Regions from separate parts of the Homo sapiens genome. Here all the other regions are linked to region 2. The links are contacts of gene promoters, found by promoter capture Hi-C in blood cells and fetal thymus (Javierre and others, 2016). All regions are on one chromosome and are shown on one strand. Each heading gives the region's core, a stretch centred on a gene start or on the middle of the fragment in contact. The rest is flanking DNA. Distances are from core to core; before and after follow the strand shown. Region 1 holds the start of SRL (sarcalumenin). Region 2 holds the start of CREBBP (CREB binding lysine acetyltransferase). Region 3 overlaps CLUAP1 (clusterin associated protein 1). Region 4 overlaps SRL (sarcalumenin). Region 5 holds the start of TFAP4 (transcription factor AP-4). Region 6 holds the start of GLIS2 (GLIS family zinc finger 2).

Region 1 (3,272 bases), core at 620-3,119, 360 kb before region 2:
TCACAATAAGTTTTCTTGACTCGTTTTGATGAGTGTTGTACCTTGGGATCCCGGATGAGGTCCCCAACATGAAGCAGCTACATTGTTTGGGGTAAATACCTGGGGTTCATTGTCTCACGCCAAGAAAATTTAGGACACAGACACACATGAGGAGTTTAGGAGCAGAGGTTTAACAGGCAAAAGAAAGAGAAAGAAAAACAGCTCCTTAGTGAGAGAGAGGGGACTTCCAAGAGGAAAAGTCCCAAGACCTTGTCTTTGAAAAAGCAGTAGCTCATGCCTGTAATCGTAGTGCTTTGGGAGGTCGAGACAGGAAGATTGCTTGAGCCCAGGAGTTGGAGACCAGCCCGAGTGACATAGGAAGACCATGTTTGCAAAAAACAAAAAAATTAGCCAGATGTGGTGCACACCTGTATTCCCAGCCCCTCGGAGGTTGAGGTGAGAGGGTGGCTTGAGCCCAGGAGTTCAAGGCTGCAGTGAGCTATGATCGTGTCACTACTCCAGCCAGGGTGACAGAGACCCTGTCTCTTAAAAAAGATTAAAAAAAAAAAAAAAGTCAAGTGCCTACCAGATGCCTAATTCTTTTTTTTTTTTTTTTTTTTTTTGAGACAGAGTCTCGCTCTGTTGCCCAGGCTAGAGTCAGTGGTGCAATCTTGGCTCATGGCAACCTTCGCCTCCTGGGATCAAGTGATTCTCCTGCCTCAGCCTCCTGAGGAGCTGGGATTATAGGCACCCGCCACCACACCCAGTAATTTTTGTATTTTTAGTGGAGATGGGGTTTCACCATGTTGGCCAGGCTGGTCTCAATCTCCTGACCTCAGGTGATCCACCCGCCTCGGCCTCCCAAAGTGCTGGGATTACAGGTGTGAGCCACTGTGCCTGGCCCTGATTTAGTTCCTTTCCTCCAAGGCTGGCTTCTACCTCTTCCCCACACAGTGACACTGTACCCCGACCAGACAAGCAAGTGTCTGCTTTCCCTTGGCTTCTTACAACTGGCTCTCTGGGCCATCTACAAAAAATTTTAAAAAATTAGTACAGCATGGTGGCACTACTGTCCTAGCTACTTGGGAGGCTGAGTTGGGAGGATTGATTGAGCCTGGGAGGTCGAGTGCAGTGAGTGATGATTGTGCCACTGCAGTCCAGCCTGGGTGACAGAGCGAGATCCTCTATCAAAAACAAATAAACAAAAAAGCACTTTGCAGAGGTGACTGAATGTTCTGGAACCCCTGGGCCATTGGAAATGGATATCTGTTGCTCCATCCTCCAGTTTACACCGTAGCCTCAGCTTGTGTCTCAGTGTGCCCCTCTCCCTCTGGTCTGTGCTCTCTCTCTTCCAGAGGCTGGGAAGGTTGTTCCAGGGCTGCAGCCTTGGACCTCAGAGGTCACATGTTGCGGGTTTGCCGTAGCTGACCACTCTCTAGCATGTGGATCAGTGGCTGTTAAATAGGATTTCTTTTGCGTGGCCTTACAACTTCCTCCTTCCAGTGCAGGCGTGTCAAGGTCCTTAACCTGCCGAGACTTCAGGTCAAGTTATTGCAAGTTCTGGGAAGACTCAGCTTCCCAGCTCCACCGCCTGAGCCCAAGGGATGCTCCATTTTATGCCTGTCACCCACGCCCTGTGACCCATGTCATGTGATCCCAGGGCTGCAGGGGTTCGGGGGAAGAGAATCCAGCCACGGCCCTGCCTTCTGGGGCCTGGCAGCTGGGACAGCAGTGGCGCAGCCTGAGCCTCTGCACAGCCTTCTGGGGTCCGGGCTTCTTCCCCATCACACCCTCCTAGTTGCCCTGGTGACTGTGTGACCCCTCTCCCCCCTCCACCGCCTGCTGCCACGGCCGGCCGTATAAATAGAGGCGAGGAGCAGCTGGGCTCTCTTGGCAGTCACCATGAGGGCGCTGGTCCTGCTCGGCTGCCTCCTGGCCTCGCTCCTGTTCTCAGGACAAGCAGGTAGGGCCCCTCCCAGCATGACCCAGCCCAGACTGGTCCCCCACGCTTCCTCCAAGGTTTTCTGTCTACCATGGGTTGGGTAGGGGGTCGGGGCTGATGGCAAACCCTGGCTCTTGGCTGGTGTCTTCTTACCCTTCTCTTTTCCCCGGGCCTGGGGCCTCAGAGAAAGAGCTGGGTGCTGGAGAATAGCAGCACAGTTGCGGGGCCCTCAGGAAGGCCAGAGGAAGTGGGAACGGCAAACAGAGCTGAGCTGTGAGCCAGGGTCAGAGAGGAGTCTGGCCAGTAGATGTGGGAAAGAGGGCCCTCAAAGTCGAGACGGGGGAGCCTCTGAGACGGACAAAATAGCACAGTCTGGGAGCTGGAGGTCGTTGAGGTGACCCTCCCACCTGGTGGGATATAAGGCGGAGGCCCCACTCGGGTAAGAGAACTGGGTTTGCGTGGACAGAAGGGGATACAGTGGGCAAAGGTGGGGACCGTTTTGGGAGCAGTGAGATAGAATTGGAATTGGTTTGGGATAAGATCGGAAATAGAGTTGGCGGTTGGGCTGGAAACAGCATTGGATGCAATTCAGAAGAGGAACGGGGCCCGTTCTGGAGTAGAGCCTCTGCTCGGGGTGGGGGCTTCCATCAGAAAAGGGGCTTGGCTCTGTGTGCTGAGGCTTCCCTTTGACATCTCAGCACTTTGGGTAGCAGAGGTGGTGGCTTGGGTTGCAGCATGGGGGTTATCTATAGGCTATGGAGGAGATGCCAGATTGTTTTGCCACCTCTCTTGTTCCTAAGGTTCCTGAGGCCAGGTTCCCCGAGGGAATGCTTTTAGGGAGGTGCTCCGGGGATCCCCCTAGGATCCGGACTGCCCACCGAGTCTTTTCATGACTCGGCAGTCTTCCCCCAAGCTGGGCTCTGAGCCTAGGTCCGTACCTGGGACTGGAGAGGCCCAGAGTCCAGCCTCTCAGGTCTTTGAGGTTGAATAGGGGGTTGCAGGGGCACAGTCCCTGCAGGGAGAGCAGGCAGTGGGTGGGAACAAAAGCTATTTCTCGGGGACTCAAGATGTAAGGTGGGGGGCTCCAGCCACTGCATGTGCTGCTGGGCCCTGCCCTTGTCTGTCCTTGAGTTAATTTGGGCTCTGCAGGGCTGCAGCGGCTTGAGTGCTGAGTATTCCAGGCGGCTGTCAGGCGGCTAAGTATGGAAACAGCCGCGTAATTGGATCCGGAGCCCCAAGCCGCTGCCACCCTCTCCCTTCGTGGCCGCTCCTGTGCTGCCCCCCAGCCCCAGCTGCTGGGCTGCTACACACTGGGCCCCAGGAATTTTTGGCCTTTTAGGGACATCCTTTA
Region 2 (2,919 bases), core at 419-2,918:
AAGATTTTGAGCAGTACAGGTAAACAGAGAAAAGCAGAACGATCACTCAATCTTGACACTCAAGGACAGTCACCATATGTACATACACCTATGTTTTTAAGAGAATTCATACGTGTTCTTTTTTAAAGAAAGACTATGTAGTGTTTTCTTTTTCTATGTCTGGGATTTTGTTTTGTTTTGTTTTGTTTTTGAGACGGAGTTTCACTCTTGTCGCCCAGGATGGAGTGCAATGGCGAGATCCCGGCTTACTGGCCTCCCCAGTTCAAGTGATTCTCGCATCTCAGCCTCCCGAGTAGCTGGGATTACAGGCGCACGCCGCCACGCCCAGCTAATGTTTGTATTTTTGGTAGAGATGGGGTTTCACCATGTTGGCCAGGCTGGTCTTGAACTCCTGACCTCAGGTGATCTGCCACCGCGCCTGGCCAGGGAGTTGTTTTAAACAGATTTTCTCCCTCTCTTTTCGGGATGTTAACTCTGGTGCTGCGTGGGGAGCAACGTGGAGAGCAAAGAACACTTAAGTGAGTAGCTGCCACCATAGCCACCGGGACAGTGCGGGAGGAGCAGTCTCCCAGGTAAAGACCGTGGGTAGAGGGGCGCGTGGCGGGTGAGAGGGAGGAGTCCGCGCTGACTCACGGGTTTCTGGCTTAGGAAACAGTGGAGCTGCTGATACCTTTATGAGGAAGCCGGGCAAGTTTGGAGGGGCAGATAACTAACTGGGATGGGAACACCTCGGGTATTCGTAGAAGTGTCCCGCGGGCTGTGGTCTCGCGTGGGGGACTCCCCAGGCCCGCACCCCTGTCTGGGGCACCTGCGAGGCGCCAGGCAAGTTGCCTGGGGCGGGGAGTGCGGCCTGAGCGTCCAGGCTTAAGCCCCGATGCGCGGGCCCTTCTCCGCCCAGGCCGGCCCTCGCCACCCCGCTCTCACAGGTGAGGGTGTCTGCCCTGCCGCCTTGGGATGCGAACAGGCGTGAGGCCCCCTCACTCCCTAGTGTCACGAGGTAGGGCGGGACCCGAATCCCGGCCCTGCCACTTCCTGCCTCGACCACTTTGGAGCAGTTGCTCGCCCCCCGCCTCAGTTTCCCCATCCGCCCACCTCGTCGGCAGGACCCAAGGGCGGTCTGTAACCTGCAGAGGCCATTCCACTTCCCTGGCCGGCGGCGAAGGCTAGTGGCGCGGCCTGGGCTGGGGTCGCCCCGACCGTTCCCGACCGACGCCACCTAGGAGGGTCTGGGGAAGGGGACGCGAGGAGCTGGGAACACGCAGCGCCGCCCCAGCGGGACGGGCGGGCCCGGGCTGGCGTCGAATCCGCGCCCGAGAGCCCAGCCCGCGGCCAGGCCGCCGCTCCCGGAGCCCGCTGGGGCCCGGAGCCCCGGCCCTCTACGCCTGGTCGCCATCAGAACAAAAGCTGTGGCTCAGCCCGGAGCCCAGGCGCCCCGCAGGCCTGGCCCGCGCCGGGCCGCCAGCTTCCCTACGCTTGGCGGCCGCGCCTTCAGCCCTTCGGCCCGAGCACGCTCGGCTCTTTCCGCCACGGCCGGCGCAGGTGGAGGGGGCGGGGCGGGGGCCGTGCGTGGTGACGCCGCGGGGGGGTGACGCACCGGCGTGCCCCGCCCCCACCCCCTCCCCGTTCAGGCTCTGGAAAGAGAAGAAAAAAAACTTTCTTTTTTTTTTAATTGAGGAATCAACAGCCGCCATCTTGTCGCGGACCCGACCGGGGCTTCGAGCGCGATCTACTCGGCCCCGCCGGTCCCGGGCCCCACAACCGCCCGCGCACCCCGCTCCGCCCGGCCGGCCCGCTCCGCCCGGCCCTCGGCGCCCGCCCCGGCGGCCCCGCTCGCCTCTCGGCTCGGCCTCCCGGAGCCCGGCGGCGGCGGCGGCGGCAGCGGCGGCGGCGGCGGCGGAACGGGGGGTGGGGGGGCCGCGGCGGCGGCGGCGACCCCGCTCGGCGCATTGTTTTTCCTCACGGCGGCGGCGGCGGCGGGCCGCGGGCCGGGAGCGGAGCCCGGAGCCCCCTCGTCGTCGGGCCGCGAGCGAATTCATTAAGTGGGGCGCGGGGGGGGAGCGAGGCGGCGGCGGCGGCGGCACCATGTTCTCGGGGACTGCCTGAGCCGCCCGGCCGGGCGCCGTCGCTGCCAGCCGGGCCCGGGGGGGCGGCCGGGCCGCCGGGGCGCCCCCACCGCGGAGTGTCGCGCTCGGGAGGCGGGCAGGGGATGAGGGGGCCGCGGCCGGCGGCGGCGGCGGCGGCCGGGGGCGGGCGGTGAGCGCTGCGGGGCGCTGTTGCTGTGGCTGAGATTTGGCCGCCGCCTCCCCCACCCGGCCTGCGCCCTCCCTCTCCCTCGGCGCCCGCCCGCCCGCTCGCGGCCCGCGCTCGCTCCTCTCCCTCGCAGCCGGCAGGGCCCCCGACCCCCGTCCGGGCCCTCGCCGGCCCGGCCGCCCGTGCCCGGGGCTGTTTTCGCGAGCAGGTGAAAATGGCTGAGAACTTGCTGGACGGACCGCCCAACCCCAAAAGAGCCAAACTCAGCTCGCCCGGTTTCTCGGCGAATGACAGCACAGGTGAGGAGGGGGTCCGGGGCGGCGGGGGCCCGGGGCGCGCTGTCACCCCCACCTGAAAGAGAGCGTCCGGGGGTCGTGGTCGCGGATACCGATCGAGCCGGGAGCTCGGAGCAGGCCCCGCAGCCCGTTCCCCTCGCCCCGCGCGGGAGGGTGGAAGTTCGTCGCAGGACTGTCACTGGGCCCGAGTTGGTCAGCACACGCCCGGTGCACTCGGCCTCCCCGCACCCGATCAGCCCTCCTCGCGGGGACCCTAGTGGCACTCCAGGAGGGAAGAAGTAAAGTGCAGCGTGTGGGTTTGTTTGGTAATGTCCTACGCATCCATCCGCGGCCGTGTCCACACGCGTGGCCGTCCAGAGGAATGACAGCGGAG
Region 3 (3,126 bases), core at 138-2,637, 360 kb after region 2:
AATTCTACTCTTTTAAAAATATAAGCAGATAAACTCAGAAATAATTATAATCTTTTGAACTAGAGCAAAACAAAGAGACTTTTCTGTTAAAATGATTTGGAGCTTAACAAAAATGAATTGATGCTTTAAAAGTGGAATGTGTCAAGGAGATCAATCTATATGGCGGCAATGACTTCTGTTTTTTTTTTTTTCCCTCTCTGAGGCTCCAGAGGTAAAGAGCCAGTTTCAGGAGGGGAAGGGCCTTGGCCTTGCGCTGGGCAGGGAGGAGCCAGGGCGCTCCCTGTGGTTGCTGTCGCTGCCTCCAGGTGCTGCCTCCCCACAGACCTCGGGACAGTGGGCAGGGTGTAGCCAGCCACCAACATCCAAAAAGGCAAAACATCCGAGCAGAGTAGGCAGCTGGGAAGAGGAGGGAGCCAAGAAGAAAGAAAAATAAAGGGTGAATGAAAAGGGAGAAAGAGCAGAAGCATGGGGGAGGGAAAGAGGCACAGAACGAGGAAGAGAAGAGAGAGAGAGCCGGCACCACTATTCTCCATCGGTATTCCTGGGAAATATATTTCCAATGAGGTAACGTAGGAAGAAAGATGAATTACTGACTGGTGAGGAATGATCAAGGTTTAAATAAAGTCTAAAATCTATGCCAACAAACAGGCAGGAGTATGTTTCTGTTTCTACCTAATTTATGGCAAGATCTTAGGAGACCACGTCTGGATTTCCCCGTCTGGATTCACTTACTCTGCCTTGAGTTCCAAGAAGCTATAAAAGCTTAAAGGGCAGTTCAAGCTTTAAGCAGTTTTCCAGACATACCGCAAGCAGTAAAGAGAATGAGTTTAGCCATCTGCTTGTTATGACAGGCAACACATGTACATTTGAGGTGAAGATACCCTTATGTAAGGCTTTTTTTCATTGCTTGAGAAGAGTTAAGATCACATTCTATTCTCTTAAGTCTTTGTTCTAACTTTTTTTTTCTTTTAGAGTCAGGGCCTTGTTCTGTTACTCGGCCTTGTTCTGTGGCTCAGGCTGGAGTGCAGTGATGCAACCATAGCTCACTGCAGCCTCAACCTCCTGGGCTCAAGCAATCCTCCCGCCTCAGCCTCCCAAGTAGCTGGGACTACAGGTGTGTATCACCATACTGAGGTAATTTTTAAAAATTTTTAGAGATGGGGTTTCATTATGCTGCCCAGGCTGGTCTCAAACTCCTGGGCTCAAGAGAACCCCCCGCCCCAGCTTCATGAGTAGCTGAGATTTCAGACATGAGCCACCACGCCCAGTTTGTTTGAACTTTCCAGGACATCTTTCTACTCATTCTCCAAGTGTTCATATCTACCTGACACTCTGCAGAGTCTCTAGTCGCTTCCGATTTCTTTCCAGTTCTAATTTTCTCTTTTCGATTTTGGCTTCTAAATTAGCTTCATCAGAGGCCACATTATTGAGCAGGTCTTTAGTCTTCTGAACCTGTGTCTATATTTAATGGGAAATAATGAGACAAGGTGGCAATAAAAACAGCCATCCTAATTCTTAGAAGAATTTTGCAACTCTTCAGGCATAGCAACATTATGCTCAACAAACACAAAAGCAAACAAATAGACACTTCCCCAAGCAATGACTCACTTAACCCACTAGTTCCAGGGAGAATGTCACACAGGTCCAGAAAAAGGTATCTCTTTTTTTTTCCCCATGAAAAGCAGGCATTTCTACCCAGGGAAAGAAGTGAAGATGCAAAGAAGAGTGTCCTGGTCAAGGTGGAGAGGCCTGCAGTCTTTTCTCTGGCTCACTCGGTTAGAACAAGGTGCACATCACTCTGGACGGTCAGTCTGCCTTTTTATCATTCGGGCCATGCCCCTAGTTACAAACACCCGACTTACAGAATACCCACACACACCAAGTACTGCTCTACTAGGAGGGGAGAGAAAGAAACAGCTGGTCCCAGCCCTAACCCACTGCCTGCTGGGATTGAGAGAAGGTCCTCTTCCCTCTCCCTGGCAACAGAAGCTTGACTACAGACTAAAAACGAGGAGAAACCACTCTGAAGACAGTACGAAAGCAGTTCCCACAGTGGCAATGGCCACACTGGTGTGCACCAGCTCTGGAAGGGGTCCAGGGCAACAGTTGGACAGAGGCCCTTGGGCAACAGAGGCTGAGTAAAGAAGGGAAGGGGGACACGGGCCCACTGACGGTGACACAAGTCTCCCTATCCTAAGAGAAGGTTCATTTGAAGCAGGTAGAGTCACTGGTAGTGCGCCGTCTTCACATGCGTCTTGTCCGGTGGCTGGCTGGATCACATGCCTGGGGTTCAGGCTCCAATCTCTTTATGAGGAATCTGGACTGCCACCCAGCTGAGCGTGGAACTGCCCCCCAGGGTTCTGGCTTTCCAGCCCTGCATTAAGTTCCTGGTGGCCAAGGTGGGGCTTCCCCTCCAGCTCTTTGCCTATGTGTAGCATCCCACGAAGGGGTTACTCTGTTTTCCTGCAAGTCTCTGAAAAGCTATGGGCTCCACAGAGAAATGGCCTACGAAGCCCAGACACTCTCCACAACTCTCAGGCATGGTGTGTTTTGGAACCAGCCACTGTTACTGACAATGCGTTTATGGTCTAATTTTTTTGGTCTAAGTACACTAGCCACTTCTAAGATACTTTCATGAAAATAATCAGACCCTTATCATCGATTTGCTGCAAGTGCCTTAGAGCCCCCAGGAGAAATGCGAGTTCACCCTCACAGGAAGAAAGGTGGGTCTCCTTTCTAAACAACTTCAGTTAATGGCAACTGTTTCCTCGAACCAAAGTCAGATTAAAACCTAGTAAATTTATCCCACCTTAAACATATCTGTTCCTCAAACAAGAAAGATCCACAATGCAAAACAGCTGTGTAAACACAAGCAATTTTCCCTGGTTTCTGAAATAAATGGCCTGTACTCCCCAAACCCTTTTAAGTACCCATGTTGTTTTGGTTGTTTTTAGAATGATCAAACATCACAGATATTTTCTAACAATGAAAGGAGTCTTAAGAGATGTCTACCAAGAAATGAACCCTGTCCTCTCTTGGGTGTTCTACTTTTAACATATTAGTGCTAAGGGCACATTCATGCCGTGTTCACCTGATTCAGTTAGAACACTGGCAAGGATAAGAGGT
Region 4 (2,845 bases), core at 335-2,834, 340 kb before region 2:
CTTGTCTCTAGTTCTAGCTTTGTCCCAGTGCACTGGCGACTTCTGGCAAGCTCCTTTTTCCTCTCTGGGCATTGGTTTCCTCCTCTGTGAAAAGAAAGAGTTGGGCTAAAGAGTTGGGCTAGTTACTTTCTAAGTTTCTTTCTGATTCTAGAGCCTTGAATGCAAAAATAACCATAAGGATAAATAAGATGAGACCTGGGGCCATGAATGCCAGGACCTGGCGGTGGGGCCCATCTGTCATGGATTCGGTGACACCCTCTGGGAAAGAAGGTTGAAAAATCTGGCCTTTTGGTGTCTAGGCAGAAGTTTTTCCAGAGAGGTCTATGAGCTGGGGCACATGGGCAGGACATTTGTGTATTCTTGCTGCCCTAGCTCTGCCAGAGGCCTGGCCTTCCTCCTTAACTAACTCTGCGTAGACTTGGGAACCGCCGGCTTCTGTGGTCTTCCTGGCAGTTGTAGGAGAGATGGCTGAGGACACCTCCCCGGCTGAGCAGGTTGGGGGCTGTGCGCCCTGTTGTCTGGCACTCTGGGTGTGGCATTTCCTCTCACCTGCTCTGCTAATGGGGACAGAGCTGCTGGTGATGGAGGAGCAGGGCCCACGTGGTCCAGCGGGCCTGTGTGTGAGGCTCTTCAAAGCCATGGAGACATCAGCTGTGATTTCACTTGTGCGAGAGGAGCAAAGCGCCGCTGTATATTGGAGGCCAGAACTGCTCCTGCCCCATCTCTGTGGCTCAGCCCTGGCTGCGTTCTCCAGGCCCGAGTGGTTTCTGAAGGGCTGATTGTCTTACTCCCAGTGCTCACTTACCATGAGGATGAGGAAGCCACACAGCACTGCTAATGACCTCCCTCCGACCGTGTTGCTGTTTCAGAGAGCTTTGAAGGGCCCTTACCGGTCCTCTGCCTTCGGAAAGGGCTTCCCTCCCATTCTCAGAAAGACGTGGCCCTTAGAATGGGTCTGTTTAAACTTCCTGAGTGCGCGTTTGCGTTGGGGTGAAGTGCGGGGTCACCTCACTTCAGTGACTGGACAGAAGGGATGGGACGTGGTGGGGAAAGGGGAGGCCACATGTGGCCTCAGATGTTGCTGGTGAATCAGGGCTGACTGAGGCTGGAGTCAGGGACTGCAGGGGTTAACTTTGGGATCAGCAGAACGAGCTCCTGGCCCCTGGGAGTGTTGACAGCTCAGCCTGCTCCGTTCCCAGACCAGCCAGAACTTCACCAAGAGCGCAGGGCTCACCCCCAGGCACCCTGCAGCTCCTCGCCTGAGCTGCCTCTGGCTGGCAGCCAGGGAGGAGGAGTCCCTGGCAGAAGGATGGATGGCTCCGGGCCCCCTGACTGAGCCCCCAGACCCGGAGGGCTAAAGGAACAGCGTGAAGGGCCAGCTGGCTCGGCTCCTGTCCGAAGCTGGCTCTGCTGTGGCCCACTCAGCAAATTTGGGATTTGGCCTGGTGTCTTTGCTCTTCTAGGAAAGAATGATGCTCATAGCTGACATTTATTGAAATGCTTCTGAGCACCACCTGATGTTTAAAACGCTCTGATGGGGCTGGCAAAGCAGGTATTGTTATCTACATTTTATGGGCGAATAAAGTTGTGTGCAGAGGGAGTAAGGAGCAACCCAAGGTTACTTCGCTGGGTAGTAAGACAGCGGGGGGTGGGGGCGCCAGTGGTAAGACAGCAGGGGAGGGGCCAGTGGCTCACGCCTGTAATCCCAGCACTTTGAGACGCTAAGGCTGGAGGATCGCTTGAGCCCAGAAGTTTGAGACCAGCCTGGGCAACATAGTGAGACCCTGTCTTTACAAAAAATAAAACAATTAGCCAGGCATGGTGGCGCGTGCCTGTAGTCCCAGCTACTCTGGAGGCTGAAGTGTGACAAGTAGGAAGGCTGCAGTGAGCTTTCGTCACACTGCTGCACTCCAGTCCAGGTGACAGAGCAAGACCCTGTCTCTAAGGGACAGGGTCTGTAAAAAAAGAAAAAGAGTAAGGGGCAGAACCCAGCTTTCCTGACTTCCAGGTGCATTCAGAGAGACCAGCCACTATCTAGGAGGCTGGAGCCTCAGCCCCAGGAAGAAAGAAAAGGCATAGCCGTGGGCCTGGCTCAGGCTAGGGAAGGTGTCACACCCATTTCCCAAGCTCCCACGTTTCTCAAGAAGATTCCCTCCAGCTTCCCTGGATTGGGGATGGGGTGGGCCCAGATTCCTTGACCCCTTCACCTGCCAAGCTGGAGATGGCTCTGACTTTAACCCAGGATAGCTGTTAGACTGAGACCTGCGGGAGCCACGCTCCCTTGGCTTCCAGTAAGTCTTTTCCTGTCTGGGGCCCAAAAGTTAGACCAGCACCTCATCCCCACAGATCCCAGGGAGATTGGATTTCTTCGGACTGGGATGTGGGGGGAAGCCAGCCACCTGCCTTGGTCTGTCTCAGAACCCAGCCTGCATCCCTTTCCCCTTCCTTTCCCTTTCCTCCCCAGCTCGGCCCCTCTGAAGGGAGGCAGCAGGCCCAAGGCCTTCTGCAAGGATTTCTGTTCACTGCAGGCACGGCTGATCTCTGGAAAAACTGAGTGCTCTATAGAGTATCCCTGCTAGTGATTGACTCATACTGAGGGGTTAGGATATAATGTTTTGCTCTTTCTGAGGTATTTGTCTTTTTAAAGTGAATAGTGGCTGGGCATCGTGGCTCATGCCTATAATCCCAGCACTTTGGGAACTTGAGGCGGGTGGATCACTTGAGGTCCAGAGTTTGAGACCAGCCTGGCAAACGTGGTGAAACCCCATCTCTACAAAAAATACAAAAATTAGCCGAGTGTGGTTGCGTGCACTTGTGGTCCCGGCTACTCAGGAGGCTGAGGCAG
Region 5 (3,131 bases), core at 612-3,111, 390 kb before region 2:
CTTCCCACCAGGGCCATCCATGGCTCATGCTTGTAATCCCAGCAATTTGGGAGGTAGAGGTAGGATTCCTTGAGTCCCAGGAGTTCAAGACCAGGCTGGGCAACACAGTGAGACTCCTATCTCTATTTGTTGAAAAACAGTAAAAAGGTTTTTTTTTTTTTTTTTTTTTGAGACGGAGTTTCACTCTTGTTGCCCAGGCTGGAGTGCAATGACATGATCTTGGCTCACTGCAACCTCCACCTCCCGGGTTCAAGCGATTCTCCTGCTTCAGCCTCCCGAGTAGCTGAGATTACAGGCATGTGCCACCAGGCCCCCGGCTAATTTTGCATTTTTAGTAGAGACGGGGTTTCTCCATGTTGGTCAGGCTGGTCTCGAACTCCCGACCTCAGGTGATCCACCCGCCTCAGCCTCCCAAAGTGCTGAGATTACAGGCGTGAGCCAACGCGCCCAGCCGAAAGTTTTTTTTTTTTTTTTTTTTTTTTAAGTAGAAACATAGTAAGCCTTCCAGAGACTTTTTTTTGGTCAAGTGGTCTGGGATCTCTCCTTAGAGAAACTGCCTAACAGGTTGCTTCAAGGATTGGAGAGCGTGTAAGCAAAACTGCTCGGCATCCACCGGGTGCTGGCAACATCTAATAACAATATTTCCCAATAATAACAGTAACTATTGTTACTAGTAGGAATAAGTCAAATTAGGAGGCGCGATTTAGGCGGAACCTGGAAGGCGGTGGGCAGGATCCAGGACATTCCAAGGCAGGCGTGGGCTTCCTGAGCCAGGAGCCAACCCTCCAGGAGCCAGGGGAGGGCCTGGGGCCGGAAGGTGCGGCGTGCGAGCGGAGGACGGAAGCTCGCCGCCAGGGTCCCCGTCCCTGCCCCAAGTCGTCACCCCCTCTTGGGGAGCGCATCCTGGCGGAGGGGCAAGTCCCACACGGGCTTTGTTATGAATGGGAAGCTGCAGCCTTCAGCCCGCGGAGGGAACAGTGCGGGTCTGGGGGAATAGCAGGGGACCCGGCAGCAACCAGCAGACCTCCCCGCAGCGCTGGCAGCCTGCGCCCGGGGGCCGCTGCCGTTCAGGCCCGCCTCCACCCTCCCCTCCCTGCCGGGGCCCCCGGCTTCCTAGGGCGGCCCCAGCATCCGAGGCGCCCTTTGCCGTCCCGTCGCCGGGTCCAAGATTCCCAGGATCCGGAGTCCCGGCCGTGCGGCCAGCTAAGCAAGGCGGGAGGGAGGAAGCTGGCCGGCCTCCGAAGTCAGCCCCGAGTTACATGTGGGAAGCGGTGGCTGTGACGCAAGTTTCCAGGGGGCCCTGGGCTCGGCTCGAAGGGAGCACACCGGAGAGGCTCCGCTCCGTGCAGCTGCAATGGTGAAAAAGCAGAAGCCCCAAGCGCGAACCCCAGGCCGCCTTCCTTGCTGCCGCTGCACGCCCGACCCAGCCGCGCCCCCTCCTCCCTGCGGGCCGGCCGAGCGCGCGGACCCTGCTCTGGGCCAGTCGCTGCTGGACTCCGGGCTGCACGGGCTGGGCTCCCTGCGCGGTGGCTGGCCTTTTTTTTTTTTTTTTTGCAACGCTTGCCAACCTGTCAGCTGATGGACCTCATCACCCATAGTGGCGCATGTAGCTCGGCCGCAGCTCGCTCCATTCACGCCGCGCCCCGCAAGCCCGCCCGCGGCCCCCGGCCCCCTGCGCCCCGCGAGAGGCCTGCAGACCCCGGTTGCAGCCGGTCCCCGGGGGCCCGCGCCCCTCTCGCCCCGGCCTCGCGCCGCCCGGGGGGCGCTGCAAATAGTCCTTTGTTTACATGCAATTCCTTACTCCGCGGAAGGAGGCCGGGGGAGTGCTGAGTTTTCACCAGCTGTTTCCCGCCTTGAAACAGACATCTGATCAGCTGCAAACACACACACACACACACACACACACACACACACACACACACACACACATACACACGCCCGGGGAGGCAGGCCGGAGAGACCTCCCTCCCGCCCCTCCCGCCCGCCTCCCTCCCCTCGCCGCCGCCGCCGCCGCCAGCATCTGGGACCGGCCGATTCTGCACCTCCGTCCGGCGCTGCCCTTTGATTCGGATTTCCATCTTGCATTCTCCGGCTGATCGCGGGACCTGGCTCGTGCAGAGGAGGGGGGCCGATCGCTATGGAGTATTTCATGGTGCCCACTCAGAAGGTGCCCTCTTTGCAACATTTCAGGAAAACAGAGAAAGAAGTGATAGGAGGGCTCTGTAGGTGTGTACTCCTCCTCCCCCCACCCCCTTCCTACCACTGCAGCCCCCGGCCAGCCCGCCCGGGCGGGCGCGCGTGTGCGCACGCATGGCCCGCGCCGCCGACCCCGCTAGCCTTTCTTAGCTGCCGGGACGGCTGCAGCCCCACACGCCGGGTCCGCGCCGCCCCGGGACCCTCCTTCCTTGGAGCATGGGGGCCCCAAGCGGCCCCGGCCACTTTTGTCCGCTGCAGGCGGGCGAGTCGCGACGTTTGTAAATTGCAAACAGACCCACGTGGTTCTGCAGCAGTCCCGGCCATGCTTGGTGCTGGTGGCCTTCCCCCCCGCGCTTCCTCTTTCCCCCTCCTGCGGCGGCTTCCTTCCTCTCCTTCCTTCCTCGGGATCTGAGGTCGTCCCCATCCAAGGGGGTCTGGGGGCCCGGGGCGCGCGTGGGGGTGTAGCTAGGGCGGCTACAATGCAGCCATGCCGCGGCTCCCGGCGCGGGGTGGGGGCGGGGAGCCGGGCACTGTGCGTGTTTGCAGAGCGGGGCTGCAGCGGGGTCGGGGGCGTGCTCGCGTGTGGGTGTTGGGGGTGGGCGGACCCCGAGGGGCCCGCGCGGCCGGTAGGGGCGCCGCGGCCCGGGGCACGTTGGCTGCCGCTCGCTCGCCCGCCCGCGCCCGGGCGCTGTTTACTAGCGAGGCCTGGACGTGACTCTGCAGCCCTCTTGGAGTAGGCGGACCTCTGCGCGCGGCCTCGCGGGAGCTGTAGTTCTCCGTGTCCTGCTGGTGCAGCATTGTGGGATTTGTAGGCGCTCCTGGGCCACGCTTTCCCTGCACAAAGCTCGGCCCCCGCGGGCACGATGGGCAAGGCAGGCCAGGTGGGCAGGCCATTTGGGGAAGGGACACCTGAGGCCGCCCCTAGCCTCGCAGGG
Region 6 (3,108 bases), core at 251-2,750, 440 kb before region 2:
GGCTGGGCCTGGACAGCTGTGGCACTGTGGCACCAGAATGGGGCTTGGGGAGGGGTGACCCAAGGGGCCAGTTTCCCCTCCCCTGAGCCCGGGGGCTGGAAGGCCCTCCGAAGCGCAGTGTCTCTGGGCTTCCTCCCCAGCCGCAGGCTGGCCCCACCTTCCCTCCAGGATGCCAGGACACGCAGGATGGCGGCCTACTACCCAGGGTGCCAGCCTCCAAGAACCATGGCCCAGGCCCTTTCCATGGCCCAGACCAAGCCCAGGCCTTGGCCAGGTCCCCAGCCGGCCTGGCTGCCCCCTCAGTGTCAAGCGTTCCCTCCAGAGCCAAGATCCTGGGCTGTGATGGCTGGGGGCCCAGGGCCCCTCCCAGCATCCCTTCCAGCTTCCCAGGCCCCAGGGCAGGGCTGGGCAACTCCTTGAAACCATTGCTTCCCGGCCACCCTCTGGCCAGGCTGGGCGGGCCCTCCTGGACAGGCAGACAGGCTGCACGCTGCCCTGCTGTGGCCCGAGTACCCTGCTGGGCAGGGCAGCATGCCAAGGCCTCCAGGTGCCAGCCTGGATTCCAGCCCCATCCCAGGGGGCCAGCGGGGAAGCTGTGCGTGCTTCTCCTCCCTCGGGATGCACCTGCCTCGCCCCCTCCTCCACCCGCTCCAGACCCGCCCTCCGGCGAGTATGGACCCCTTGCCATCTCCTCCCTGCCAGGCCGGTCGCCTGCGTCCACCCGGACCGCAGGGGAGTAACAAGTGCCTGACTTGTCCCAAACTCCCAGTCCTGACCCCCCAGGGACGCCCCTTCCCGAGGTCCAAGGAAGGACCCGGGCTTGCGAGGGGCAGCAGGAGGGAGACTCTCCCGGCCAAGGGAGGAGGCACCTTCCAAAGCCCTTCCTAGCAGCAGCCCCGGCGCGGCCGAGAGGAGGGGCGGCTGCCCCGGACAACTTCATGCCCAGGCTCCGGGTACCCCCCTCTCACCTCGCCGCACGCCCCCCACCGCGGCCGCCCAACTTCCCAGCTGAAGTTTGCGCCCGCCCCGGGCCCGGGCGCTGCTCGGCCCGGCCTCCAGACGGAGGGAAGGAAGGAGGGAGAAGAAAGACCGAGAGCTCGAGGGACCCGGCCGGGGAGCCGGCGAGGGAGGGAGCGCGCGAGCCAGCGAGCGAGCGAACGCGGGGGCCTCGGCGAGGGCTCACAATGGCCCGGGGCGCGGACGCGAGCGGGGGAGGAGACCCTCGGGCCCCGCAGCCCCGGCGCGACAGGCGGGCCCCCCCCCCCCCGCCCCGGCCCGGTCCCCACGGCGCGACGCCCGGGGGGCTTCCTACCTCAGCGGCGGGGGCGGTCGGGATCCGGGCTGCGGGCTCCGGCGGTCGGGGGGCGCGGGGAGCCGAGCGGGGGAGGGGCCGGGACGGGCGGGGGCCGGGGCGCGAGGCCTCACGGGGCGCGGGCTCCCCTGGCACGGCCGCCCGGCGCCCGGCCGCTCCGCCACATCTGCAGCTCGGGCAGGGAAGGTGGCCGCGGCGGCCGGGCCGTGCGGGGATGTCTTAGAGGGAGGGCGGGCGGGCGGGAGGAGGGAGGAGGGAGGCGGCGGGAGGAGGGCCCGCCGGCCGCGGAGGAGGGCGAGGAGGAGGGGCGCGGGGGGCGGCCTCCACCCCTCCCCTCGCTCGCTCGCTCCCTCCCTCCCAGCAAAACCCCTCTCACCGCTGCGGCCCCAGGCCCGGGGCGCCAGCTGCCAGGCGGGGCGTGCGCGTCGGGGGAGGGGGCGGCGGGAGCCGGCGCTGGGCCGAGGGAGGGGGAAGGGAGGGCGGCGCGGCCGCGGGGAGCGGGCACCGGGAGGGAGGGGTGAGGGAGGGAAGTGGGGCGCCGAGCCGCGCGCGTCCTCCTCGGCCCCATCCTCACGCCACCCCCCCCCCGCGGCCCCGCCCCCGGCCCGAGGGCAGCGCTAGGACACGGCCGGGAGGTGGCCTGGGGGGGCGGGGGAGCCCGAGACGTCCCGCCCTCGGGGAAGCCCGAGGAGGGGGCCGGGCGCGCGGGCCCAGAGGAAAAGCCCCGCAGACCGGGAAGATGGAGGAGGTCGCGGCGGCGGAGCGGGCGGGGACCCCTCGCCTCCTCCCGCGGGGTCACCTTGGCCAGGCCCCCCTGCGGCCCCGGGCGGCGGGGAAGGCGGCAGGAATGCCTCTCTGCGGGCCCTGATTTCTCCGCCCAGCCCAGTTCCAGGAACGCGCAGGCAGCGCCCGGCGGGCAGAGGTCCCGGATCCCGATGCCGGGCGGCGCAAACCAGTTTTCGGGGCCCGGCGCAACCCCTCACGCTGGTGAGACGGCGGGCGACTCCCTGCCGTGCCCTCGGTCTCAGTTTCCCTCACGGTAGAATAACGACGAGGCCCGATGCCGAGCAATCCGAGCTTCCGCTTGGTTCCTAGCTTGGTCCCAGCATTTGGGACCACCTGCGTCCACTAGCCCGAGCGCCGCGGGAGGTCTAGATCCCTCCTGGACATCAGCACCCTGCGCGGCGCCCGCGGCCAGGGCAGCGAGTGCAGTGAGCGGATACACGCGAGGGAGAAGCCCCGCACCCGGCCCAGCTGTTTTCTGCCTCGTGTTGAACCACAGACTCGCGTTCTTGAGTGTGTTTTGTTTGGGCTAATCCCGTGCCCCCCGCCCTGTTATCTTCTTGCTGCTCTGCTGTATGCTGGCAAATTGTAGTTCAAAAAAACAGCCCTCCTGCTGTTGGACACCCCCTCTTCCCAGCGCAGTTGGCCTTGAGGAGCCTAGGAGACGAAAAAGGCATCCCAGAATCAGCATCCCCTAGAGGTGAGGCATCTGACGCTGGTTTTAAGTCCGTCTTCATTCGTGCATTTGATGCTGCGGTCCCCGCCAGAGCCCGAAGCACGTGGCTCTTGATCACAAGGCATCCATGGCAGGCACAAGGCTTGGCACATAGTAGGTGCTCCTGGGCTGGTGCCCAGATGGACACATAGCAGGTGCTCATGGGTTATGTGGACACACAATCGATGCTCATTGCATTTTAAGAGAATGCACACATAGTAGGTGCTCATGGGCTGGTGCCCAGATGGACACATAGCAGGTGCTCATGGGTTATGTGGACACACAATCGATGCTCATT

Evidence for each region. Contacts are between HindIII fragments. The CHiCAGO score rates a contact against its expected background, and 5 or more counts as called.
Region 1: the fragment with the promoter of SRL here is called in contact with the fragment with the promoter of CREBBP in region 2 in 13 of 17 cell types (naive CD4 T cells, naive B cells, naive CD8 T cells and 10 more); the score reaches 8.1 in naive CD4 T cells.
Region 3: a contact is called between a fragment that was not itself captured here and the fragment with the promoter of CREBBP in region 2, in 1 of 17 cell types (endothelial precursors). The highest score is 5.5, in endothelial precursors.
Region 4: a fragment that was not itself captured here is called in contact with the fragment with the promoter of CREBBP in region 2 in 1 of 17 cell types (endothelial precursors); the score reaches 5.5 in endothelial precursors.
Region 5: the fragment with the promoter of TFAP4 here is called in contact with the fragment with the promoter of CREBBP in region 2 in 4 of 17 cell types (naive CD8 T cells, naive B cells, total B cells and 1 more); the score reaches 7.6 in naive CD8 T cells.
Region 6: a contact is called between the fragment with the promoter of GLIS2 here and the fragment with the promoter of CREBBP in region 2, in 5 of 17 cell types (M1 macrophages, monocytes, erythroblasts and 2 more). The highest score is 6.4, in M1 macrophages.

What each region holds. Positions count from the first base shown.
Region 1 is chr16:4,240,677-4,243,948 of GRCh38, reverse strand. SRL (sarcalumenin) reads left to right here and starts at 1,869. Exons shown (of 6, transcript NM_001098814.2): 1 at 1,869-1,942. The coding sequence starts at 1,882. The HindIII fragment of the contact is 10,843 bases long and covers 1-3,272 here.
Region 2 is chr16:3,879,462-3,882,380 of GRCh38, reverse strand. It overlaps CREBBP (CREB binding lysine acetyltransferase), which reads left to right and starts at 1,668. Exons shown (of 31, transcript NM_004380.3): 1 at 1,668-2,549. The coding sequence starts at 2,465. RefSeq lists silencers at 1,193-1,742, 1,763-1,812, 2,150-2,459, 2,500-2,549, 2,630-2,679 and an enhancer at 1,413-1,989. The HindIII fragment of the contact is 11,013 bases long and covers 1-2,919 here.
Region 3 is chr16:3,518,235-3,521,360 of GRCh38, reverse strand. It overlaps CLUAP1 (clusterin associated protein 1), which reads right to left. Exons shown (of 12, transcript NM_015041.3): 7 at 1,325-1,458. Among named protein-coding and RNA genes, the nearest start is that of CLUAP1, 19 kb to the right of the region's middle. The HindIII fragment of the contact is 1,209 bases long and covers 783-1,991 here.
Region 4 is chr16:4,216,382-4,219,226 of GRCh38, reverse strand. All of the region lies in intron 1 of SRL (sarcalumenin), which reads left to right. Among named protein-coding and RNA genes, the nearest start is that of SRL, 24 kb to the left of the region's middle. The HindIII fragment of the contact is 3,324 bases long and covers 1-2,845 here.
Region 5 is chr16:4,271,753-4,274,883 of GRCh38, reverse strand. It overlaps TFAP4 (transcription factor AP-4), which reads left to right and starts at 1,861. Exons shown (of 7, transcript NM_003223.3): 1 at 1,861-2,226. The coding sequence starts at 2,138. RefSeq lists silencers at 917-1,566, 2,287-2,336, 2,697-2,856 and enhancers at 715-1,690, 1,987-2,036, 2,937-3,126, 2,668-3,131. The HindIII fragment of the contact is 8,835 bases long and covers 1-3,131 here.
Region 6 is chr16:4,314,459-4,317,566 of GRCh38, reverse strand. GLIS2 (GLIS family zinc finger 2) reads right to left here and starts at 1,500. Exons shown (of 7, transcript NM_032575.3): 1 at 1,313-1,500. RefSeq lists enhancers at 1-238, 2,360-2,872, 2,873-3,108 and a silencer at 2,665-2,959. The HindIII fragment of the contact is 6,668 bases long and covers 1-3,108 here.